Regions from separate parts of the Homo sapiens genome. Here regions 1 and 3 are each linked to region 2. Evidence: promoter capture Hi-C in 16 types of primary human blood cells and fetal thymus (Javierre and others, 2016). All regions are on one chromosome and are shown on one strand. The core of a region is centred on a gene start or on the middle of the fragment in contact, and the rest is flanking DNA. Distances in the headings are between cores, read along the strand shown.

What was found. The method cuts DNA at HindIII sites, captures the fragments that hold promoters and counts their contacts. A CHiCAGO score of 5 or more calls a contact.
Region 1: a fragment that was not itself captured here is called in contact with the fragment with the promoter of IFFO2 in region 2 in 2 of 17 cell types (activated CD4 T cells and endothelial precursors); the score reaches 5.7 in activated CD4 T cells.
Region 3: a fragment that was not itself captured here is called in contact with the fragment with the promoter of IFFO2 in region 2 in 5 of 17 cell types (endothelial precursors, non-activated CD4 T cells, naive CD4 T cells and 2 more); the score reaches 8.3 in endothelial precursors.

What each region holds. Positions count from the first base shown.
Region 1 is chr1:19,116,245-19,120,498 of GRCh38, reverse strand. UBR4 (ubiquitin protein ligase E3 component n-recognin 4) reads left to right here. Exons shown (of 106, transcript NM_020765.3): 69 at 151-319; 70 at 798-942; 71 at 1,542-1,627; 72 at 2,589-2,676; 73 at 3,085-3,278. Among named protein-coding and RNA genes, the nearest start is that of UBR4, 92 kb to the left of the region's middle. RefSeq lists an enhancer at 1-943. The HindIII fragment of the contact is 3,131 bases long and covers 566-3,696 here.
Region 2 is chr1:18,953,639-18,958,494 of GRCh38, reverse strand. It overlaps IFFO2 (intermediate filament family orphan 2), which reads left to right and starts at 1,819. Exons shown (of 9, transcript NM_001136265.2): 1 at 1,819-2,827. The coding sequence starts at 2,163. RefSeq lists silencers at 1,637-1,806, 2,377-2,636, 2,877-3,066. The HindIII fragment of the contact is 3,069 bases long and covers 454-3,522 here.
Region 3 is chr1:19,097,059-19,101,236 of GRCh38, reverse strand. It overlaps UBR4 (ubiquitin protein ligase E3 component n-recognin 4), which reads left to right. Exons shown (of 106, transcript NM_020765.3): 89 at 664-861; 90 at 1,560-1,640; 91 at 3,957-4,044. Among named protein-coding and RNA genes, the nearest start is that of UBR4, 110 kb to the left of the region's middle. The HindIII fragment of the contact is 866 bases long and covers 1,858-2,723 here.

The DNA.
Region 1 (4,254 bases), core at 882-3,381, 160 kb before region 2:
ACTAAAAATTGTTTTGCAGAATATCAGCATTCAGTAGAAACTTTTAGAAATGGACAGAATTCCCTCCCTCACCATTTGGTAGCCCAGGCCTTAGGACCCTGGAGGACTTCTTCCTACTCTTCAGCCCTTAGTCCTGTCCTAATCTTGCAGGTGAGACCTCTGGCAGCCAGGAGGACCAGCTGTGCACAGCTCTGGTGAACCAGCTGAACAAATTTGCCGATAAGGAAACCCTGATCCAGTTCCTGCGTTGTTTCCTGTTAGAGTCCAATTCTTCCTCGGTGCGCTGGCAGGCCCACTGTCTGACACTGCACATCTACAGGTAGGGCCAGGGCTTGGTTTGACAGATCTGCAAGGGTGTGAGGCCAGGGTGCGTAATGCAGTTCTATTTTGTTTTCGGTTACATATGGTCACAGAGTCAGTAGTTACGCCAGCCTGAATCCTCTTGTGCTTTAGAGATTTCTTTATTGTTGTCTGCTTTTTAGCCATTAAACTGACGTCATAGGCAGGAGACGATCTGTTTTCTACTCAGAAGGCTATGTATCGGGGTTTGTAACATGACCAAGCTTGACCCTTCAGGCTAAAAAAGCTCAGCTTCTGCTCTGGGATATGTTGGGTGATGGGTAGAGGCAGCAAATGACTATGCTGCATCTGGTAGGATTGATTGTCAAAAGTGAAACAAAACCGTTCAAACTTAACCCATAATTGTGGGGAAATTGAGGTACCAGAGCCTCAATGATAAACACAGGTGCCTCAGGGTTTTCTGCTGCTTGGTAACATGAGCTGTCATATATCCACAGAAATTCCAGCAAATCTCAACAGGAGCTCCTGCTAGATCTGATGTGGTCCATCTGGCCAGAACTCCCAGCCTATGGTCGTAAGGCTGCCCAGTTTGTGGACCTACTAGGATATTTCTCCCTGAAAACTCCACAAACAGAGAAGAAGGTAACAGTTGCTTTATGGTCAGAGGGGCCAACTTGCCATATTTAACCTTTTTTCTCTTGAGTTAAGAATATTATGAACAACCCAGATATAGGGAGTCCATATAGGAAACCTCTTTTAAATATATCTAGTTTTGCATTTCTTGGTAAGCACTCGTAATATGTCTGTGATGTAGACAGTATACACTAACAAATCTAACTTAACATAGGACGTAGGTCAAGGTCAGGTGGGGAAAGAAGATAGAACTCATTACAGTTCCTTGGAAAAGCAAGTGCTCCTTGTTTTGCTAGTAGCCCTGATTATACATACCAGAAAATGTTTCTGCAATTAGCTAACCATTTTATGGCTTCTCCATAAAAATAAAAATGATCTTCCTCCATCAGGTCAGAAAAGGGTACTACCTATCACTAAAGCTCATGGAAACTTCTAAAGGAGATAGAATCCATTTAAATGATTGAAATTAGGCCCAGCTTTGTATGATTCTGACTGAGAAGTCTGGTAGGTCTAGGGCAGTATTCAGCTAGAATGCAGAAGACAAAAGTCTTTTCCAATAAGACTTCACCTTGGGCTTTAAGTTGTTTCTTTACTGAATTCTGTTTCAGTTGAAGGAGTATTCACAGAAGGCTGTGGAGATTCTGCGGACTCAAAACCATATTCTTACCAACCACCCCAACTCGAACATTTATAAGTGAGCTTTGTTTTGCTTTCTACCTGTGGGAAGCTCAGTCAGCATTCTGAGGAGTTATTTGCATGGTGATAGGCTCTTACATAGGAATTGACAAGCGCCTGAGAGAAGAGCGAATCTGCCTAGTTGAGATTCCAATCCCCTCCATGTAGGCCAGGGTCTTGCAAATAGAAGGTACTCAAAATGTCATTGCTGAGTTCAGGGTTTGGTGAGTAGTAATGTAGAAAGGTCTGTATAGCCTGGGCAACATAGTGAGACTTCATCTCTTAAAAAAAAATTTAAAAAAGTTAGCCAGGCGTGGTGGCGTGTACCTGTGGTCCCAGCTGCTGGGGAGGCTGAGGCAGGAGGATGGCTTGGGGCCAGAAGTTCGAGGGTGCAATGAACTGTGATCCACGCCACTGCACTCCAGCCTGGGTGACAGAGTGAGACCCTGTCTCAAAAAAAAAAAAAAAAAAAGGTCTTTAGTTTCAAGGGTTTAAGTTAAATAAGGTGAAACAAATTTAAAGAAAATGTCTTCCTTTTTTTAAAAAAACTTCTAAAAGAGGATATTGGTTAAATTGACAGTTTATTATTTCTCTGGTTTAGTAGTGACTGTTCTTTAAAAAAAATTTAAAAAAACTTTATTGAGATAATTTATGTATTAACCTATTTTAAATGTACAGTTCAATGATTTTTAGTAAATTTAATTGTGACTCTTGAGTCAAATTTTACTACTTTTTAGAATTCCTCTGAAGGATAGATCAAAGATTAGGAAACATCTAAGGTCAGTTAGTTGAAATTTCTTTCCTGTGGCTTCGTAACCCTATTGGGATTTCTCCTGTGTCCTTGAGTTCTCACTAGGGTGGGGCTCACTTTGGGCTCACTTTGGCTCACATTGAGCCATGGCTTTGTCATGATTTTTTTGTGAAACTCAGTGCTTCCTAAGATGAAAATGTGTTCATGCTAAGACTGGTTTCTTCCTTAGCACTTTGTCTGGCTTAGTGGAGTTTGATGGCTATTACCTGGAGAGCGATCCCTGCCTGGTGTGTAATAACCCGGAAGTACCGTTCTGTGTAAGTAACATCTGTACATGGACAGTCCTGAGGCCAATAGGTCCAGTGGGATTCTTGTTTCCAGAGATGGATCATTATCACATAGATGTTCCTCTCCTAATGGTTGGTCACCGATAGTAGGAATTTTTATCTGCCACATTTATTACCTTAAATAGAAACTTGGCTGGGTGCAGTGGCTCAAGCCTATAATCCCAGTACTTTGGGAGGCTAAGATGGGAGGATCCCCTGAGCCCAGGGGTTTTAGACCAGCCTGGGCAAGATGGTGAGACCCCATCTCTACAAAATATTTTTTAAAAAATTAAATAGAAACTTCATCTTGTGGATGAAGAGTGGGTTACACTGATGAATTTTTAAAAAGGCAGTACGAGTCTTGAACTAATACCATGTTTTGTGAACTCTTGTATTTAGTATATCAAGCTGTCTTCCATTAAAGTGGACACGCGGTACACCACCACCCAGCAGGTTGTGAAGCTCATTGGCAGTCACACCATCAGCAAAGTGACAGTGAAAATCGGGGATCTGAAACGGACCAAGATGGTGCGGACCATCAACCTGTATTATAACAACCGAACCGTGCAGGCCATCGTGGAGTTGAAAAACAAGTACGGGCTTTTTAGGCCTCGGGAGGGGCAGCAGGTTGTAAGGCTGAAGCTCAGTTGCTGCCTTCGGTTCCTGGAATGGAGTAAGGCAGCACATCCCTAGAGGCCTAATACATCCTCTTGGCCCCTCCATTCATGACCAAAGGACAAAAGTGAAACAACAGTTCTAAGCATGTTGACAAAGATTATTTCTAAATTAGCCCAGTGGAGCCATAGGGGTCTGTGGAAGTTCCTCAACAGCCTGCCTAGGGAGGGGAAGCTGAGTGAGGGGACCTCCAGGCTTCTCATGCCCATTTTAACTATTCTTACACAAAGGTCTAGACTTAGATAAAACCTTCTGTATTGGGAAGTAATTGTCATTTCTTGGATTAAGACAGCTATGCTCTTGCTCACAGGGCAGAAAGTTATTTCTCAAGAAGCTTCTTTAGTACACACACTCTTCGATTTCCACATGGTGCCTTTTCTCTGTATCTGCTGATACTGGATCTTCCTAGCCCATGTATCCCAGTGACTGAACCAGGGCATGTCATATTTAGGCCAAGAGAGGCACTCACATGGGTTATAGTGTTGACTTTCACAGAGACAGATCGCCTTTTTTTGAACTCTCAGGCATTGCTACTGAAGGGAGAACACAGGTTGACACTACTTGAATAGTAAGACTTACAGAGCTGTTCTGCACACAGGATGGAAGTATTGCTGTTATTCCAAGAGGCAGAATAAGGCTCATGTACCACAGCAACACGTGGCCATGAAGGCTGCCTAGGGAGGTTTTCTCTTCTTGCCTTGAAAAGCCTAGTTTAACCTTGGTGACCTGAAAGTAGATGCTGCACATTAGGGTGGCCCATTCCCCTCCAGAGGAGGTGGGTTTGATTTTTCATTGTGTGGAGTCAGCAGAGCTACTGGTAGACTATTTGGGTTCAGATCCCAGCTCTGCTACATAGCTCTGTGACCTTAGAGAAGCTGCTTAACCTCAGTTTCT
Region 2 (4,856 bases), core at 570-3,069:
CTTTAGAGATTAGTGAGGCTAAAGGTATAACTTTTGTCCACCCCTGTGTCATGGACCCCCCAGAATTCTATCCTCAGTCCTCTTGGGGGTCCATGAACCTCTGCTTCAAGGCAAAGGGGTTTTGATTCCTTAGGTTAGATAAACAAGAACATCATCAAGAGACGAGAGAACGAAGAGTAAAGGGCAGTGTCCAGACTGGGTTGGGTTAAGCAGAGAAAGGTTTCTAGATGAGTGAGTTTCAGAGCTGGGTGTTTAAGGTGAGTCCGTGTTGGCAGGAAGCAAGGAACTGTGGTTGAGGGAAGGAACTATGGGGAAGGTTTGCTTTTGTGGCTAAATCAAAAACACAGCAGACTAACATCACAGCCACATCACTCCAGGGCAAGCCCGTGTCTCCTTTGTCACCAAGAACACCAAGGCATTGTCCATGTAAGACAGTGTGCCTGTCCTCAAGCTTACATACAAAGAGACAAAACAAACACAAAAGTTAATAACAAGACAAAAATTAAACTGCTAGTAAAAAATGCAGTCGGAAGTATCTGAAACATGCCACATATCTGGTTAAGTGCATACAATGCAAGCCACAGGCGTTCAAAGGTGGGGGTTCAAGGTGGGGGTCACCTCCCCTCTGAGGTTTGCGGTGAGGACCAAATGCGGAAATGGACACGAGGCCCGAGGCCAGCATTGTGGAAGGCCGGTTAGAGCATGCACTTTGGACCATTGTGGCTACTTAACGTCTCAGTGACCTTCTCTGTAAAATGGGGATAATAAATAAGTATGGCGCCTGACATATACTAATGTTTGCAACACGGTTCAGGAGACACCAGAGACTGGAGAACTTGGCCTTTAACGTGGTAGGTGTGAAAACATTTGAATGAATGAATGAATGAATGAATGGGTCCTCGGGTTGCCTCGGTCTGCCCCAGGCGGCCCGCTAAGCCCCATGTCTGTGAAATGAATCCCCAGCTCTCGGGGTCAGCTTCATCTCAGCGTGTGGGTGTGGGTGGTGGGGAGGTGCTGAGCAGCTCAGCAGAGGCGAGGCCCAGGCCGAGTTTGTGGGTGTCATCCCGGGAGGGTCTTGCTCGGCCTCCCCAACCCCCATGCTGCTCGGCTCCTCAGTGGGCGGGGGAACCAGCGGGCTTAGCTGTGCCCGGGCCGATCTCGAGAGGACAAGGCCCGCAGCTAGCATTCGAGGAGCCCACCCCCGGGTCCGCAGCGTGGGGCACGGGCGCCCTCTTATCCCCGAAAGGTCGATCTGGGCCTCCCCAGGCTAGAGTGGGGGTGGGGTGCCGATGCACCTTCGGATACTGTGGTCCCCCAGCCCTTCCAGCCGCGGTCGCGCACATCCGAAGGAATTTGGGGCCAGGGGCATTGCGGGCAGAGAGGACAGAGAAACGGAGCCCTCTCGGCAGGCGACGTGGGAGAGGAGCGCCCTAAAAAGTGGAAAGCGAGCGTTGCCGAGGCTGCTGGCCCCTTTAAGAGGCCCGGCTGGCTCTGCGGCGGTTCCAGCTAACCCGGTCCCTGGTGCAGCTCTGCGGTCCGGGTCCCCCAGCAGAGAATCGGCACCCGGCGGGGAGGCAGGACCAGACGCAGGAGAGGGCGTGGCCCCGCCGGGGAGCTGGGCGGAGTCTATGCTGCGGAGAAAGCGGGAGAACCCGGAGGTGGGCGGAGCCGAGGGTCTGTGGGTGGGGCCCGGCGCTGCGGGCCTCGTGGGGCGGAGCCTCGGGCTCGGGGAACGCCGCAGAGGGAGGAGGGGTGGGCGGGGCCGCGGCGGGGGCGGGGCCAGTGTCTGCAGTGGGCGGGGCCCGCCGCAGAAGGGGCAGTGCCGGCCGAGAGTCCTCTGCGTGCGGCTGCCGCGGCCCCTCCACAGCGTCTCTGACAGCCCGGGCGGTGAGACCCGCGACCCTTCTGGCCCCGCGCAGATACCGCGGCCTCCACCGCGTCCCGAGGAGCGGCCGAGTGCCCTCTCTCGCCTCGGCGCCCGCATCCGGGGCCATCCGTCCTGCCGTCTCTGCGGAGGCCGCATCTGGCGCGCATCTGGAACCGCCCGGCCGGCCGCGCTGGAGCCCGCGCCCACCCTGGCCCGGCCGCGCCGGGAGCCCTGCCCGGAGCTGGAGCCGCACCTGGAGCCGCGGGCCCGGGGCCCTGAGCCGCGCAGCCGGCGCATGGTGAACTCGCTGCTGTTCGGGGAGATGGCCTTGGCCTTCGGCTGCCCGCCGGGCGGCGGCGGCGGGGGCTGCCCTGGCGGGGGCGGCGGCGGCGGCGGGGCAGGGCCGGGTCCGTCGCCGGTGACGGCGGCGCTGCGGGACGACCTGGGCTCCAACATCCACCTCTTGAAGGGGCTCAACGTGCGCTTCCGCTGCTTCCTGGCTAAGGTGCACGAGCTGGAGCGGCGCAACCGGCTGCTGGAGAAGCAGCTGGAGCAGCAGCAGAGCGAGCGCGAGCGGCGGCTGCGCTACAAGACCTTCTCCCGCGAGCAGGCCGTGCAGACCGGGCCCGAGTTGCTGCGGCCCCCGGCGCCCGGCGGCGGGCACGGCCTCAGCAGTGGCGCGGCGGCCGGCGCCAACGCCAATGCCGTGGCCCTGGGCGGCCTGCCCCCCGGCGGCGGCTCGCACCCGCAGCACTACGGCCGCCTGCCCGGGACCATCTGGAGCTACACGCAGGTGCGGCGCACGGGCGGCGGCGGCGTGGAGACCGTGCAGGGCCCCGGCGTGTCGTGGGTGCACCCCGACGGCGTGGGCGTGCAGATCGACACCATCACGCCGGAGATCCGCGCGCTCTACAACGTGCTGGCCAAGGTGAAGCGCGAGCGCGACGAGTATAAGCGGAGGTGAGTGGCCGCCCCTCCCCCGCCGCCCTGGGACGGGGCGCCCAGGTCCAGGCTGCCGCGGAATGCGTATGCGGGACGGGGGCCGGGCGGGCAGCTGGTACTGGCAGGTGGGCTGGAAGCTGTGTTTGCAGAGCGTCTTACGTACGCCAGGAAGGCCCAGTTATCTAGATCCCAGGATGGGGGCGGGCGCTGGCTACCGTGGGGGCCACCTCGATGCTGTCACTGGTGAGGCACATTGTTTTCTAGGTGACATAATAACTGTCTGTGTTTTATGCGATCTCATTTAATTCTCAGCACAATACAGCGTATTGTGTAAGGCAGTCTTATCCTCATCTCGCAGATGAGGAAACCGAGGTGCAGAAATGCTAAGTGATTTGCCTAAGGTGGCTTGGCGAGTAAGTGGTGAAACCGGGATTTCAACCAGAGATTTTAACCACTCCTGGCTAGTCTGTCTCCTAGCATAAGTATTTTTACCAAGGAAGTAGGAAATATGCTCCCCTCCCTCAACATATGAAAAGAAAAACTCTAACCAACCCACTGCCTTTTTATTTCTTGAATTAAATGAGATCACGTTTTTGAAAATGGATGGATCTGCCCCTACCCCCTGGGGCCAGTGTCTGCCGTCTTGCTCCAGCTCTGTAAGGTCCAGCTTGCTGGGTTGGATAACCACAACTACAACAGACTGCTCACAAGCTTTTATAAAATGCCTCCTTTCATCCCTCTTCTCCCCACTCCCTGAGTCTCATGGTTTATTGAGCCCTAACAAACTCAGCCTTAAAAGCCCCCAGGAGAAGATAATGTTGGGCTGGAGACTGGACATTGAATGGACTGAGACCACAATCTCTGGCTAGAACTGGGGTCCAGACTCTGCAAGACTGGCCAGTGCATTCCTGCCTAGCCCAGATTCCCCAGCTGGGAAACTGTCATTGCTTCCTGTCTGCAGTCTGGCCGACAATACTGTCTGCTTGGCTTTCCGATAAGAGGAGAGGGGTCTCCTATCCTCCTCCTCTTCCCATAAGAGAAGAAGGGTCTGTCTTTGGCATCTCAGGCCTGGCTGGGGAAGGGGCCCTCTGGCCCTGGCAATCGCTGTTCCAGGCACAGGCAGCCTTCCATTCGGAGCTATTGGCTCTGAACTCCAGGGCTTGGAGGATGTACTGAGAAGGACCCTTCCTTCCATCTCTAAAGGTCTGTCCAGGGAGCTGGGCATAGGTCTCCTTCCGTATTCTCCCATTGGACAGGCTAGCAACTGGGTAGGATTCAAATGCCAGCCTTATACCTGCTGGTGAGATTATCAAATCACTTGAAAGCCTGTTTGCTCATCAGAGAAATGGGAATAATAAAATCTGCCCACAGTTGCTCGAGGAGACAGCAGGATGGTGATGCTCTTTGGGAGGTATAAAGTAATCATGCTGGTGTTATTAAAGATGATAGGCACTTTGTCAAGCTAGCAGGGAGTAGAAATGCTGAGAGTCCTCAAGCTCTCTCATGTGGCGCCTAGCTTCCTGGGGGTAGGTCTTACACTCCACTGGGAGACGGGCTTCTCTCCTGGGTTACCTGTTTCTCTGGAGGACTTGAGAATGGCCCGCCTGGTGCCTTGCCACAGGGAGGCCACCTCGCCGCCCCTCATGGTCAATGTCATTGGGGCAGGCTAGGGAAGCAGGCACTTGCTCTCAATGGTGAAACTGGGGAGGGATGGGCCGGGCCCTCCTGTCTGCCACTGTTGATTGTGTTGTCATGCCTCAGGCTTGTGTTGTGTTTGTTTTATTGTGTGTGTGCTTTTTGGACCTGGCTACTAAGGTGATGGAAAAACCGTGCCCAGTCTTGGAGGGAGATGGGTTGGCATTGAGCAACGATCTATTCAAGTTGCACCCAGGGCGTGGGGTGTGATGTCAGCTTCTGGCGCTGGCCTGGAATGAGACGGTGCTGCTGAGACAGGTGGAGTGCGGGCGTCTCTCTTCCCGCCCTTCTGGGATGCGTGCACACCTTGTCTTCCATTTATTTTCTGAAGTTAACTCAAGACTCATGTTGG
Region 3 (4,178 bases), core at 1,041-3,540, 140 kb before region 2:
TGCATATCAATCCAACATACTGTGGAAGAAGCGGTATTGAGCTTGAATATAAAGATATTTTTACTCTCTTCCTTCTTTAGCTGCCCTGTATTTTGTGCACACATGCAGCGTGTGTTTTTTTCCCTAGCCTGAACTGTGTAGAAGCACAGTATCATCCAGAGAACCCTTCCTGCTATTGAGGAAAGATGAACACTAGTATCATGAGCTAGCAATGAGAGCTCATTGGGGGTGTGTACCTGAGTGTCATGTCCCATAGAGAAGCCCTTTTCTTGACTTCAGGGTCATCAGTGACAAAGTCCTCTGGCCCCAAATTGGTTAGCATCACATGAGACCAGCAGGAGGAGGAAGGAAAGTCCCTCCTCGCACCCCTTCCCCGATTTTTTAATATATCTCTCATATGTCACTCCTTGTCTGCTTGTTTTGTTAGGCTTTATCTCCTAATCCACCCTGGGGTTTCAGGGTAGATGCTTGATATTTTAGTCTACTTGAGTTTGTTTAGATTTTTGGAAGTACCTCTGAGTTTCCTGTCCTTTGTATCTTTAAATGTTTGGGGGGCTTGCTGAGTTTGGTGTGTTTTCCTCGAGTGTCCATGGAACAAGGTAGCATGGTATAAATCTCCACCTCTGCCATCCCTTCTGATGCACCCTTCTGTCTGTCCTCCAGGAGGAGAATGAAGTCACTGAGTTCTTTGTGACCCTGGAGAAGGATCCCCAACAAGAAGACTTCTTACAGGGCAGGATGCCTGGGAACCCGTATAGCAGCAATGAGCCAGGCATCGGGCCGCTGATGAGGGATATAAAGAACAAGATTTGCCAGGACTGTGACTTAGTGGCCCTCCTGGAAGATGACAGTGGCATGGAGGTAATGACCATAGGACAGTGCTGCCCACGTTTACGATTAGGGGCTTCCTCCTAGGCTAACCAAATCCAGGTGCTTCTTCCTAGTAGCTGATTAACTTGGGGCAGGTGGCCTTCAGTTTCTCCACTCTGTAAGTTGGGGTTAATGATTCCCACCTTTCTACCTCACCTAGTGCTAAGGTTAATAACCTGTAAAGGGCTCTGCCCAGTGCCTGGCAGGAAGTAAGCATATTGTTAATGGCTGTTGGTTGTAGTGGTGGTGGGTATTTATTATCGTTATTGCCTCTGGCAGAGACTTCTCGGTGAGTCTGAGTTACCTGAGCCCCCTAAATATTGGCGTTTTACCCCCTGTGCAGGTTTATGTCCCCGTGTCAGTTACTTTCTGGCAGACCGTTGAGGGTCTGACATTTTTACATAGTGAAAAGCCTTTTCTGGTGCTGAGCCTGCAGGAGAAGGTCCCCGGTGGGTGTGTCTAAGCTGGAGCCTGTGTGTGGGTTAGGGACGTTAGCAGCCCCTGAAATTGTGCACAAAATTCTGTGTGTTTTTCATACGTGCGGATTTTTTAAGAGTGGGAGAGTTGATAGGTCCATGACATATAAAAATTGTGAATTATCAACCATTGCCGTAAGGTGCCCTTTGCTCTTGGATTTTACTTGTCTTACAATTATTTGGAACAACAGCTTCACCTGCTTTTCTGTTCAGCTTCTAGTGAACAATAAAATCATTAGTTTGGACCTTCCTGTGGCTGAAGTTTACAAGAAAGTCTGGTGTACCACGAATGAGGTATGTGCCTGCTTTCTCGTTTGGAGGTGTGGTTTCACTTTTCTGACTTATGCAGACTTGTACCAGCAGGAGCCATTGTTCATCATCACTTACCTGGCTTGTAGCAGCTCTCTAAGGCTTTACTGTCCCTGTTTGGGGTTGTGTGGAGAAAACCAATCTTGTTTTCCTTTGGAGGCATCTGACTAATGGAGGGACATTTAATGACCTTCATGAAGCTTCAGGAAAGCAAAAGCATTTTGCTGGGCTGTGCAAGTTGTCAAACCCCAAGAACTGAAAGCCAGGGGGTGTCGAAGGAGGCTCTGTGCTGGGAATGCTTGCTGTCTTGTTCCCTTCAGTATGGACACCTCTCAGCTGAGATTAGTTCTCAGCTTTTATGGGCCTGCTCGCTTAGTAGAACATTTTTCCAGTAGCTGTGTCAAGGAGCATCATTTCTGTTTTACTAGTTGGGGAATGGAGGCTCAAACAGGCAGTTATTCTTGAGGAGGGGAAAAGGGAAATGAAGGAAGTCCAGCGCTCTGGGCCTTTTGGCCACCACGAGTGATGCTGTTTGTCCACTTATGGAAGTATTAGATGGTCCCCTTCACCTTTCCCTCCTTTCTTACTCTCTGTTCCTTCCATTCCTCTCTTCCTGTTTCTTTTTCTTCCCCTCCATTTCTCTCTCCCCCTGCCATTTCTTCCCTTCTCTTGTTTCTATTGGGAGGAGAGGTCTTTAGCACATGAATCAGATAAGTAACTTAATTACAGCAAACTAGTGTAGCAGGGATGCACAGCAAACTTTTCTAGACTTGGTCCCAAATACTTCTGTAGAGTTTGAGAAACTAAATTGGCAGTATACTATTTGTAGATTTTGATCTTCAATTTGTTACATATTTCCGCCTCTCTCCTTTCTTTTCTCCCACTGGGCTGGGAATCCTGCTTACTGTTGACTGTTGGTCTACTGCCAGTGGGGTCGTTGTTGCACTGTTGGCTGAGGGACAGGCAGAGAACTGTCCCAGCCAGTACCTCTTGTTACAGACATTGTAGCATCAAAACAGAACAATACAGATTTAATCCCTGATGCATATAAAAAATTAAGACCAAGCTTCTGTGGGCACTCTGGTAAATGGTGGTAGTGAACCCACAGAATGCACCAGGGTATCTCCCTTGAATGGTGAAGCAAGATAGAAGTTGAGAATCATTTGCCCCTCACATTGATGTGCTTAATCCAGTTAGAAGGTTTTCTGGCAAAGTTCTGAGTTTGTGATAGCCTATGTTCTGGGACTTCAGCTTCCCTTCTCTACCTTGCCCTCCATTTCCCTGATAAGCAGCCTACCTCTGTAGCTACTGACTAGAACTAGAACCTGCTCTGTGTTCAGTGTCTGTGGTGGTTCTCTCTGAGGAATTCTCACTGGGCTTCTATAGCCGGAAACACTTCTGCAACTGGCCTTTCTGGCAGGTTGTCTTCCTCCAGGGTGTCCTGTCCTGAAGCTCAGCATAGACTTGGAGGCAGGCTGCTTGAATTAGCGTGCTACCAAATCCCCCACTGGATTTCATCAGTGGTTACTTTGAGCTCCAATTTCTAGTCTGCAAAATGAGAATAATATTAATATATGTGCTCAGTGCCAGACATACAGGGAACTTTCCTTATTCTCCAATTTAGTGAAGTTGCTGTAATTTTGTCATTTATAAAAGACTTGATTCTTATCATTCTAGTCAGATTGTGGGTTTAGCTTAAAGAATTGTGGATGAACCCCCTCCTTGTATGGTTATATAAAGACGTCTGAATCTCTGTAGGTAAAGATTGATGTACTCTCTTTTCCTGTTTTGATTCCCGAGGCTTGAGTCAAAGCTCTTTGATTTAAATGGCCTTGTTTGTCCTGGGTAGTAGTCCCTATTGATTGGAGACAGTTTCTACTCCTGAGGAAGGTCCAGGCTTGGAATTAGACCTCCGCTTATAGCTTGGTAACCTTGAACAAGCTGTGTAACCTTATGTAAAAGGATCATAGAAAGTACTTAATTAGCATAGGACCTGGCACAGAGTAAAACATTCAATAAATATTTGTTAGATTATTACATAGTGTTCTAATGAAATTGAAGGAGATAGTGTCTTTAAAATGTTTCATACAATGTCTAGCTTCTAGTAGACACAAAATAAAATTAGCATTCTTTCCCCTAAGTGAATTGCTGTGCATTTGGATTCTAGATGTTGTGGTTGAGACTTTGTAGAAAAATAGAGGCTCTCCACATTGCTGGGGCTTTAAGCAAGACCAAGTATGGAGTCCTTTGCATTTGTCTGGGCCTGTTTTTAAGTACCTTTCTCCAACTTTCTCTGCTCAGGGAGAGCCCATGAGGATTGTTTATCGTATGCGGGGGCTGCTGGGCGATGCCACAGAGGAGTTCATTGAGTCCCTGGACTCTACTACAGGTAGATCATGGCACTGCACATTGGATCTGAGGCTTGGGACTCATGAGCGGCTCACGTCCCAGGACTTAGGGGCATTCTCAGTTGCTTCTCTCTTGTACCTCTGCATCAGAATTGTGGGGAGATTGTTTCTTCAA